Regions from separate parts of the Homo sapiens genome. Here regions 2 and 3 are each linked to region 1. The links are contacts of gene promoters, found by promoter capture Hi-C in blood cells and fetal thymus (Javierre and others, 2016). All regions are on one chromosome and are shown on one strand. Each heading gives the region's core, a stretch centred on a gene start or on the middle of the fragment in contact. The rest is flanking DNA. Distances are from core to core; before and after follow the strand shown. Region 1 holds the start of ASF1A (anti-silencing function 1A histone chaperone). Region 2 overlaps DCBLD1 (discoidin, CUB and LCCL domain containing 1). Region 3 has its middle 49 kb from the start of GOPC.

What was found. Contacts are between HindIII fragments. The CHiCAGO score rates a contact against its expected background, and 5 or more counts as called.
Region 2: a fragment that was not itself captured here is called in contact with the fragment with the promoter of ASF1A in region 1 in 1 of 17 cell types (M0 macrophages); the score reaches 8.1 in M0 macrophages.
Region 3: a contact is called between a fragment that was not itself captured here and the fragment with the promoter of ASF1A in region 1, in 1 of 17 cell types (total CD4 T cells). The highest score is 5.7, in total CD4 T cells.

Annotation. Positions count from the first base shown.
Region 1 is chr6:118,892,848-118,895,485 of GRCh38, forward strand. It overlaps ASF1A (anti-silencing function 1A histone chaperone), which reads left to right and starts at 1,305. Exons shown (of 4, transcript NM_014034.3): 1 at 1,305-1,675. The coding sequence starts at 1,567. The region is part of intron 8 of MCM9 (minichromosome maintenance 9 homologous recombination repair factor); the gene reads right to left. RefSeq lists silencers at 1,040-1,179, 1,970-2,499 and an enhancer at 1,500-1,589. The HindIII fragment of the contact is 9,487 bases long and covers 300-2,638 here.
Region 2 is chr6:117,500,368-117,503,005 of GRCh38, forward strand. All of the region lies in intron 1 of DCBLD1 (discoidin, CUB and LCCL domain containing 1), which reads left to right. Among named protein-coding and RNA genes, the nearest start is that of DCBLD1, 19 kb to the left of the region's middle. The HindIII fragment of the contact is 8,436 bases long and covers 1-2,638 here.
Region 3 is chr6:117,552,545-117,555,182 of GRCh38, forward strand. It overlaps a transcript of DCBLD1 not described here. Among named protein-coding and RNA genes, the nearest start is that of GOPC, 49 kb to the right of the region's middle. The HindIII fragment of the contact is 6,555 bases long and covers 1-2,638 here.

The DNA.
Region 1 (2,638 bases), core at 55-2,554:
TAGCTGTCTCACATTAACTTTCAAAAGACCATCAGATGAAAACGTTTCATCAAAAGCCACCTACTTAAGTATGAACAATGACCAAAGAATGACAAATCAAAATTCTGGGCACTATACTAAGAGAAAACTCTTCCAGAACACATACTTAAGAATTAATTTTCTCTCTGAATTTGGCCAAGTTTGGTGGTTTCATTCACAACATTTAAGGAAAAAAATGATGGTTTATGGCTAGCAGATAATAAAACAAACCTTTATACCACTTACTAAATAGAAACGGTTTAGGCTCACAAATATGTTAAAGCTTTCTCTTTCCCCGCAATGGTAGCCAAGCAGCATAAACGAATCAACATTTCCTCAGTTCAGACCTCAACTGGTTACAGGCAAGCAAGGGCTCCTCAGAATTTGCTTTACTAACGGTTTAGGTCAGAAATTTTTTTGAAGATCAAATGTCTTGCTATGTCTTTGTGTTCTTTTTCCCATCTCTATTACGTTTGTTGCCCTGTTGGTCTCCTAACACTTCCATTTTCTCCTTTTATGTTCCTGCTATGCTCTCCAAATGGCAGTAACCTGAAGTATAACTGATCACACCTCTTGTGATTTTTTTTTATTCTAGGACTTCCCAGATCTGGACTCCGAAGAAGACGCCCAGGTGCAAGCCCAAAGGTTACCTATTTAAATTTTCCAAGCACAGTGTGTAGAAAATCATTCCTCGCCCTTCATTTTGTGTTGCTTAACGGCGCTGTCGTGCCTAAACGTAGATACTGGCCAAGAGCTAGATTTCCAAAATGGCTTTGCTCCTTTCGAGCTGACATCGGTCTATAACATGCAATTTATTTCCCCTGCAGCCAATCTTTCTCTCTACTCCAAATACTACCCGATACGCAGAAAGCTGAACCTAACCCAGTGTAAACACCGACTCTCATCTGCTAAATTCAGCAAGGCCGGCAAAGCTGTTGCACTGATGTAAAAAGAGCGTTAAATCAAAAAACCAAAAAAACAAAAAAAAAAACAAAAAAACGCCAAAACACCCACACGAAGCCAACTGGAGGGGCGGGCGTCGGCCGGATCGCGCCCTCCCGCCGCAGCCACGCCTCCCCGCCGCGGCCACGCCCCCTCCGCCCCTCTCCGCGCCGCCGCCGGCGGCCTCCGCGCGGGCCTCCCAGCCCTTATTCCACTCACTTTGTTCTCCGCCTTTGTCCTAATCCACACCAGCAGGTGGAGCCGCAGTTAAAGTTTCCGAGTCCATTCCGGGAGCGGGAGCCCATCTTGCTGGCTGCCGAGGCCCTCGCTGGAGGAGGAGGGTCAGAACTCGGGTGCAGCCAATCGAGGGCAACGCTGCTACTTATCAGAGCAGAATGGGCTGTAGTTTAGTGAAATAGGAAAGCTGCAAAACACTGTGGAGTGCTCCCGTGTAAATAAAAAGAGGAAAAAAGTTTCTCAAGTCGCCGCTGCACGACGTCTGGCCGGCGCTGGAGCGGGGGTCTGCGCTCTCCCGAGCGGCCGCGCGCTGGACTTTATTGTGCCGCAACCAGCCCCAGTTCCCATTGTTTGTGTTTTTTTCAAAATATGGCAAAGGTTCAGGTGAACAATGTAGTGGTGCTGGATAACCCTTCTCCTTTCTACAACCCGTTCCAGTTCGAGATCACCTTCGAGTGCATCGAGGACCTGTCTGAAGGTGAGTGCGGCGCCCGTGCGCCCGGGCTGTCAGTTGCGGGCTGCAGACGTTGAAAGTTTCCCGGGCCGGGCCTCGCGCTGGGCGGCTGTGTTCGGCGCCTGGCGGCCGCGGGCTGCTCTGCGGAGGGAAACTTGAAGTTGATGGACGACGGCCGCCGAGGCGCGCGCGGCTTTCCGCCGCAGCCCAGGCGCCTGCCGGGCTCAACTTGCGAGGAACTTGTTTGAGCGGAGGAGCGGAGGTAGCCATGTTGTCAGCTTTGTCTGCGGGCGGGCAGCTCGGAGACCCGCACTCGCTCCCGCTGCGCCGCCTGAGGTCGCGCCGGGCTGGCTCCGCGCCGCCAACAGCCTCCGCGACCCTCCGGGCCCGAGCACGGAGGCTGGGAAGGGAGAGGCTGTGCGTGTGGTCGCGCCGGCGAGTTCGGAGCGGAGCCATCTTACCCCGAGTCGAGAATTGGGCCAGCGACCCCGGCGCACGGCGCCTCCTCTTGCCCCGCCGCCCGCCTGCCCCCGGCGAAAGGCAGGCAGGCACTCTCGAGAGCTCACGGTGGAGTCGCCGCACTCTCCGGGCTGGCCATGCCTGGCCGCTTCGGGGAGGAGAGCGAGGCTGTCCTCGCGCTGATTTCTGGCTTCCTCGACCAACCAGCGGGGGAGGCGGGCGCAGGCTCGGCCCCTCCGCGCCGCGGGCTGGGCGCCGGCGCTCCCCGGGGGCCGTGGGTCCTGTTCGGCCGGTCCTCCTCGGCCGGCGCCCGGGATGCGCCGGGATGCTGGCGCGCAGGCTCCCCAACCAACGTGGACTCCTTTCCCCTAATGACGAAAAGCTAATTTCAGGAAGAGAAATAGAGCTGAGGTAGGAAGTTACATTTAACCTAAAAGCAGAAATAAGATACTTAAATAATTTCCAGGACTTAATCTCTGCCTTATAAATAGTCTGAAGGAAGACTTTCTTCAAGACCGTGTTGAAATC
Region 2 (2,638 bases), core at 92-2,591, 1.4 Mb before region 1:
CAAAGACTCATGGGGTTTTGTTCTGATAGTTAATGGAAGAGAGAAATTTTCCCAAGGAGGTAGAGATCCCCAGGCAAAGTAACGATGGGAATGTTGACGATTTGAACTTGCCTGCATTGTGCCAGCATTGCTGGGTGAAAGAAGTTTCCTCTTAGGCCTTACAGTGGAAGTGGTCGGAAAGAAATACAATTACAGGGCTGAATAAAAGTGATACCCTGGCCGGGTGCGGTGGCTCACGCCTGTAATCCCAGCACTTTGGGAGGCCGAGGTGGGTGGATCATGAGGTCAGGAGATCGAGACCATCCTGGCTAACACGGTGAAACCCCGTCTCTACTAAAAATACAAAAAAATTAGCCGTACGTAAATGCACCTGTCGTCCCACCTACTCGGGAGGCTGAGGCAGGAGAATCGCTTGAACCCAGGAGGCAGAGGCTGCAGTAAGCCAAGATCCTGCCACTGCACTCCAGCCTGGGCGACAGAGTGAGACTTCGTCTCAAAAAAAACAGTGACACCCTAAGATTTTCTTTTGCTGACACATGTCACTTTAAAAAAATAAAATTTAGAATATGATAGTCACATGTAGGTTGACTCATATAATTGCTCCTTATTTCATATTTAACTGTTTTCTGAAAAAAAAAAAGTTTTTCTCTTCCTCTTTTATGAAAGGAGAATTTCATAGTCCTAAGAAAAGTGACATTTAAATATTTGATCAGGAGATTTTTTGGTGGCTTGGAGAGGTTGTGTTGTGTTTATATTGAGATGCATATTTGTTTGTACTAATTACCCTAGGATTGCTTTATGAGGGTGCTCAAAATAAATGCTTACAAAGGTAGGGCAGGTAACAGAAATGAGTAACAAGGACCTGGTGAAGAACTAGGGTGTTTGGCTCCTTTCAAGGGACAGCCACTGTGTCACTAGCCCTGTGAGAATGCCTGATCATGTGGTTGTCACGTCTTTCAGTTGTCATTGTTGTTGTTGTTGTTGTTGAGACGGAATCTCACTCTTGCCCAGGCTGGAGTTCAGTGGCATGATCTCAGCTCACTGCAACCTCTGCCTCCTGGGTTCAAGCGATTCTCCTGCCTCAGCTTCCCGAGTAGCTGAGATTACAGGCTCGCGCTACCATGCCCAGCTAATTTTTGTATTTTTAGTAGACACAGGGTTTCACCATGTTGGTCAGGCTGGTCTCGAACTCCTGACTTCAGGTGATCCGCTGCCTTGGCCTCCCAAAATGCTGGAATTACAGGCATGAGCCACCACTCCCAGTTTGTCCTTCAGTTTTAAAGAGAAACTATAAATTGGATATTTTATTAAAGCCCTTTAAAGCCGACAAATAATTCAGATTTCAAATCAAAGCCCCGTGCACTGTGTGCTCCTGCACACTATGCTTCTCTCTTGTATCATTTTCATTTAATTCTTGGCAATTTTGTGTTTACCAACTGCCAGGGAGCCCAAGGAATTTAGCCGTCACCTCAAACTTAACCAAACTTACAACCTTTGGGCCCAAACCTGCTCCCTCTCTGGACTCTTTTTGCTGTCTATATTGGCCTCTGTGTTGCAATCATTTCTGGACTGAACAAGGCCTTGGTGTTTTTTCTCCTTTGTTCTTCTCACCATAGTTCCCCCAAACCTGAGTCTGTTGATTTTGTCTCAAGAATTTGCCTGTTTTCTGTTCCCTTCCTTCCTGTTCCAGCTACCCCCATTGCTAGCCTGCCTACTGCTCCTCTGATCCAGATTCTGTCCCCATTCTAGTTCCTGTAGCGTTGTCCAGCCAGGTTGATCATCTTTTTCTAATACCTGTTTCGTTATCTTCCTACTCAAAAAATTCTATGTGTCTTTGTTGCCTACCATGTAAATTTCACTAATTCTGCCTAGATCTCAGGGCTTCATAGTAGTTTTATCTTGGCTGTCTAAAGTTCCCCCCGGCACTTCTTAACCCATTGGTCCATTAAAGCCAACTCTATTTCCCCAATTCAGCCCTCTGTCAGGGGCTGCCAGGAATCTCGTGGGAGTTTCTGGATAATGGGTAGATCCTTTCCCTAGGCCTTGGCTGTTGAGATGATGTAGATTCTGGAGTTTTCAAATCTTTTTCTTTTTTCTTTTTATTTTTTAATAAACCTCTATTACCATTTGGCCCCAACACCTCAAGGCAAGAAGGAAGTGGAATAAAGGAAGACTCCTGAATCCACCTCTAACTGGGGAAGAGGCTGGGAGGGAAGAGGGCTGCTTTGAGGTCCTCAGATTCACAGTATACCCAAGGTGAGGCTTCTCCATCAGAGACTTTGGGATGGAGAGGCCTTCTTTTACTACCTTTGAGAGTTCCTTCTTCAACAGCTTTCTGCTTCTCTCCCTCCAGCTGAGACCAGAAATTTTTGCTTCATTTATGTGAAGCTGTGCTAACCACAGACATTTTGCAATCTGAATGCAGTGTATGCTCATTCTCCTTGCAGCCCACCCAGTTGTGCATGTCCTTGGATAGTTGTGTGATTGACTAAGTCACTTCAATCAACTAGAGCAACTTGTAGGTTAATAGGTGAACTTCCCTATTCAGAAAAGTCTTCAGATAATTTCTTGTTTTGATGAAATGCTGGTAATTCGCTGCAACATTCTTTCTTGCCTCTCTCCTTTGCATTTTGTTTAG
Region 3 (2,638 bases), core at 43-2,542, 1.3 Mb before region 1:
TCTACCACCTTTTTCTTTTTGCTGTGACACCTAATATCTTCCAGGCCACTTTTTTCCATTCATTGAGGACATTCACCTAATTCTAGGTCTTCTTCATTCCTCCTTTGTAATCATGCTAGAGAATGAAGTGCCCAACATGGTCATTTTTATGGTTTCTTGACTTCCACTCTAGTAACCTGCTTTCCATTTAAACCACTCCCACACATGTCCACATTCTTGTCATCAGCAAGAACCCCAGCACTGTAAACCTAATCTCCAGCAATTCTCTATCAGCTCAAAACCCCCTGAGTTCTTCAGCTTTCCACCTACTTAGTCACTGATCTCATTTAGATACCAAACCCCTAGATCCCATCATTTTCCTCTAGTTGTTAATCCTTTTGGGTTGCATTTCCTTCCCTATCCATCATCGAACTGGTTTGTCTCAGCATTTTCACTCCATTTTCTTTCCAGGAGCCCCGAACCATGAGACCCCAACAACATAATTCCCCTTGAGAATACCATCTCTCCATCTTCATCACAGCAGCAGGGGAACATTGCAGAACTATTCACACTGTGGCTGTTACAAAAGCTCGGTTTCCAGTTTACTGGGGGCCCATCACTCCTCAACGCTTTTATTTATCTTTGATCCCTTTTTCCGTACCCCTTAGCAATTATTCCAAAGCAGTGCCACTTTTCACACTCTCCCTTACTCTGATCTTGCCACTTCCTTCACCTAAAAATAAAAGTCGTTAAAATCAGAACTAACTTCCTGCTGATTCCTCTTCTCACAAAACCTGTATCCACTTCATTCCTTTCCTCCTTCCTTCCTGTGTCAATGGAAAAAGTGTTAGAAACCTTCATCTGTGATCTTAAATCCCACTGCCTTCCCCTTATCTCTTTGCTCCTATTATCCCTTTTTCCTTTATCTTCTTCTTCCTTTCATTGGAGGTCTCCCCCTCAGCCTTTAAACTTCCTCAAATCTCTCCCAAGTATAAAGAATTCTCCCTTAATATACTAAGCCCTTCTAATTACCTATTGTCTTTCTTCGAACAGTGATCTCTTCTTGGAATTTTTGTCTGCCTTATTTCCATTCATTCTTTTTCTAATGTAGTTTTTAGTCAGTTATATAGGTACACAAAACGTAGTATCCCTTTCCATTTGTTCAAGCCCCTTTTGCATCCTTTCAGGGGATTTTAAAGGGTGCTCACATAAGTACTGCACATTTTTTGTTTAATTTGTACTTAGGTGTTTTTTTTGTTGTTGCTGCCATTGTAAATTGTCCCCACCTCCTCTTTTATGTATCAAGAACTAGTATGGCCTAGTGGTAAAAAGCATGGATTCTGGGGCTTAGACTCCCTGGGCTCAAATTCTGCCTTAGTTGTGACCAAGAAGGACTTACTTTCTATGACTCCATTTCCTTATTTCTAAATGGAGATAATAATGGTATATACCTTATAGGGTTGTGGTGAAGATTACAAGGATTAATGTACATAAAACCCTTACAACAGTGTCTGACCCATGATAAGTGCCACGTGGTGTTAGCTATTATATGCAGCCTTCCTGTTCGATTTCTGTGACTAATTTGTATGCTGCTCCTTTACTAAATGTCCTTATTATTCCTAGTAGCTTTTAGTTGATTCTCTTAGGTTTTTCTGGAATTTGATCACGTTTGCAAATAGTGCTAGTGCTATCTCCTTTCCAATATTTATGTGTACATTTAATTCTATTGGCAATACTTCCAGTACCATATTAAATACTTCTAGTAGCTCCCACCTTAGCATGATGCTGGCTTTTAGGCAGAGATAGATTTATTATGTTGAGGTAAACTTTATTATGTTAAGAAAGCATCTATTTATTCCTTTTTTTCCCCCTCACAAGGAATGTGCTTAATTTTGAGCAAAGTCTTTTCAGCATCTATGGAAAATATGATTTTCCTCCATAGGACTCCTCCCTAGAGCCAGTCAGATGATTAATTACATAATTAGATGTCCCAATGTTAAACATCTGGTTATAGATATGAATCCATTACTGTATTAAATTTGCATGGATAGGATTTTACTTAGGATTTTTACATTAATATTCATTTGTGGGCCAGGTGCAGTGGCTCATGCCTGTAATCCCAGCACTTTGGGAGGCTGAGGCGGGCGGATCATGAGGTCAAGAGATCGAGACTGTCCTGGCCAACATGGTGAAACCCTGTCTCTACTAAAAATATAAAAATTGGCCGGGAGTGGTGGCTTGTGCCTGTAGTCCCAGCTACTCGGCAGGCTGAGGCAGGAGAATCGCTTGAACCTGGGAGGCGGAGGTTGCAGTGAGCCGAGATCGAGTCACTGCACTCCAGCCTGGCAACAGAGCGAGACTCAGTTGCAAAAAAAAAAAAAAAATCTTTTGTGAATCAGGGCTTTTCTTTCTTTGTGGCAATCTTGATCAGATATTATTAGCTTGACAGAAACAATTTAGAATTTTTCTTCCCTTTTTTGGTTCTCTTGCTAGGCATTAGAATTAGCTGTTGTTTGAACGTTTAGTAGCATTGCCCTGTGAAATCATGTATTTTGGTAATTTGTGGGGAGAGCACTTTGACAATTCCTTCAATTTTTCCTATGGAAATTGGTTTGTTTAGATTTTAAAACTTCCTTGGGAACAGTTTTGGTAAATTACA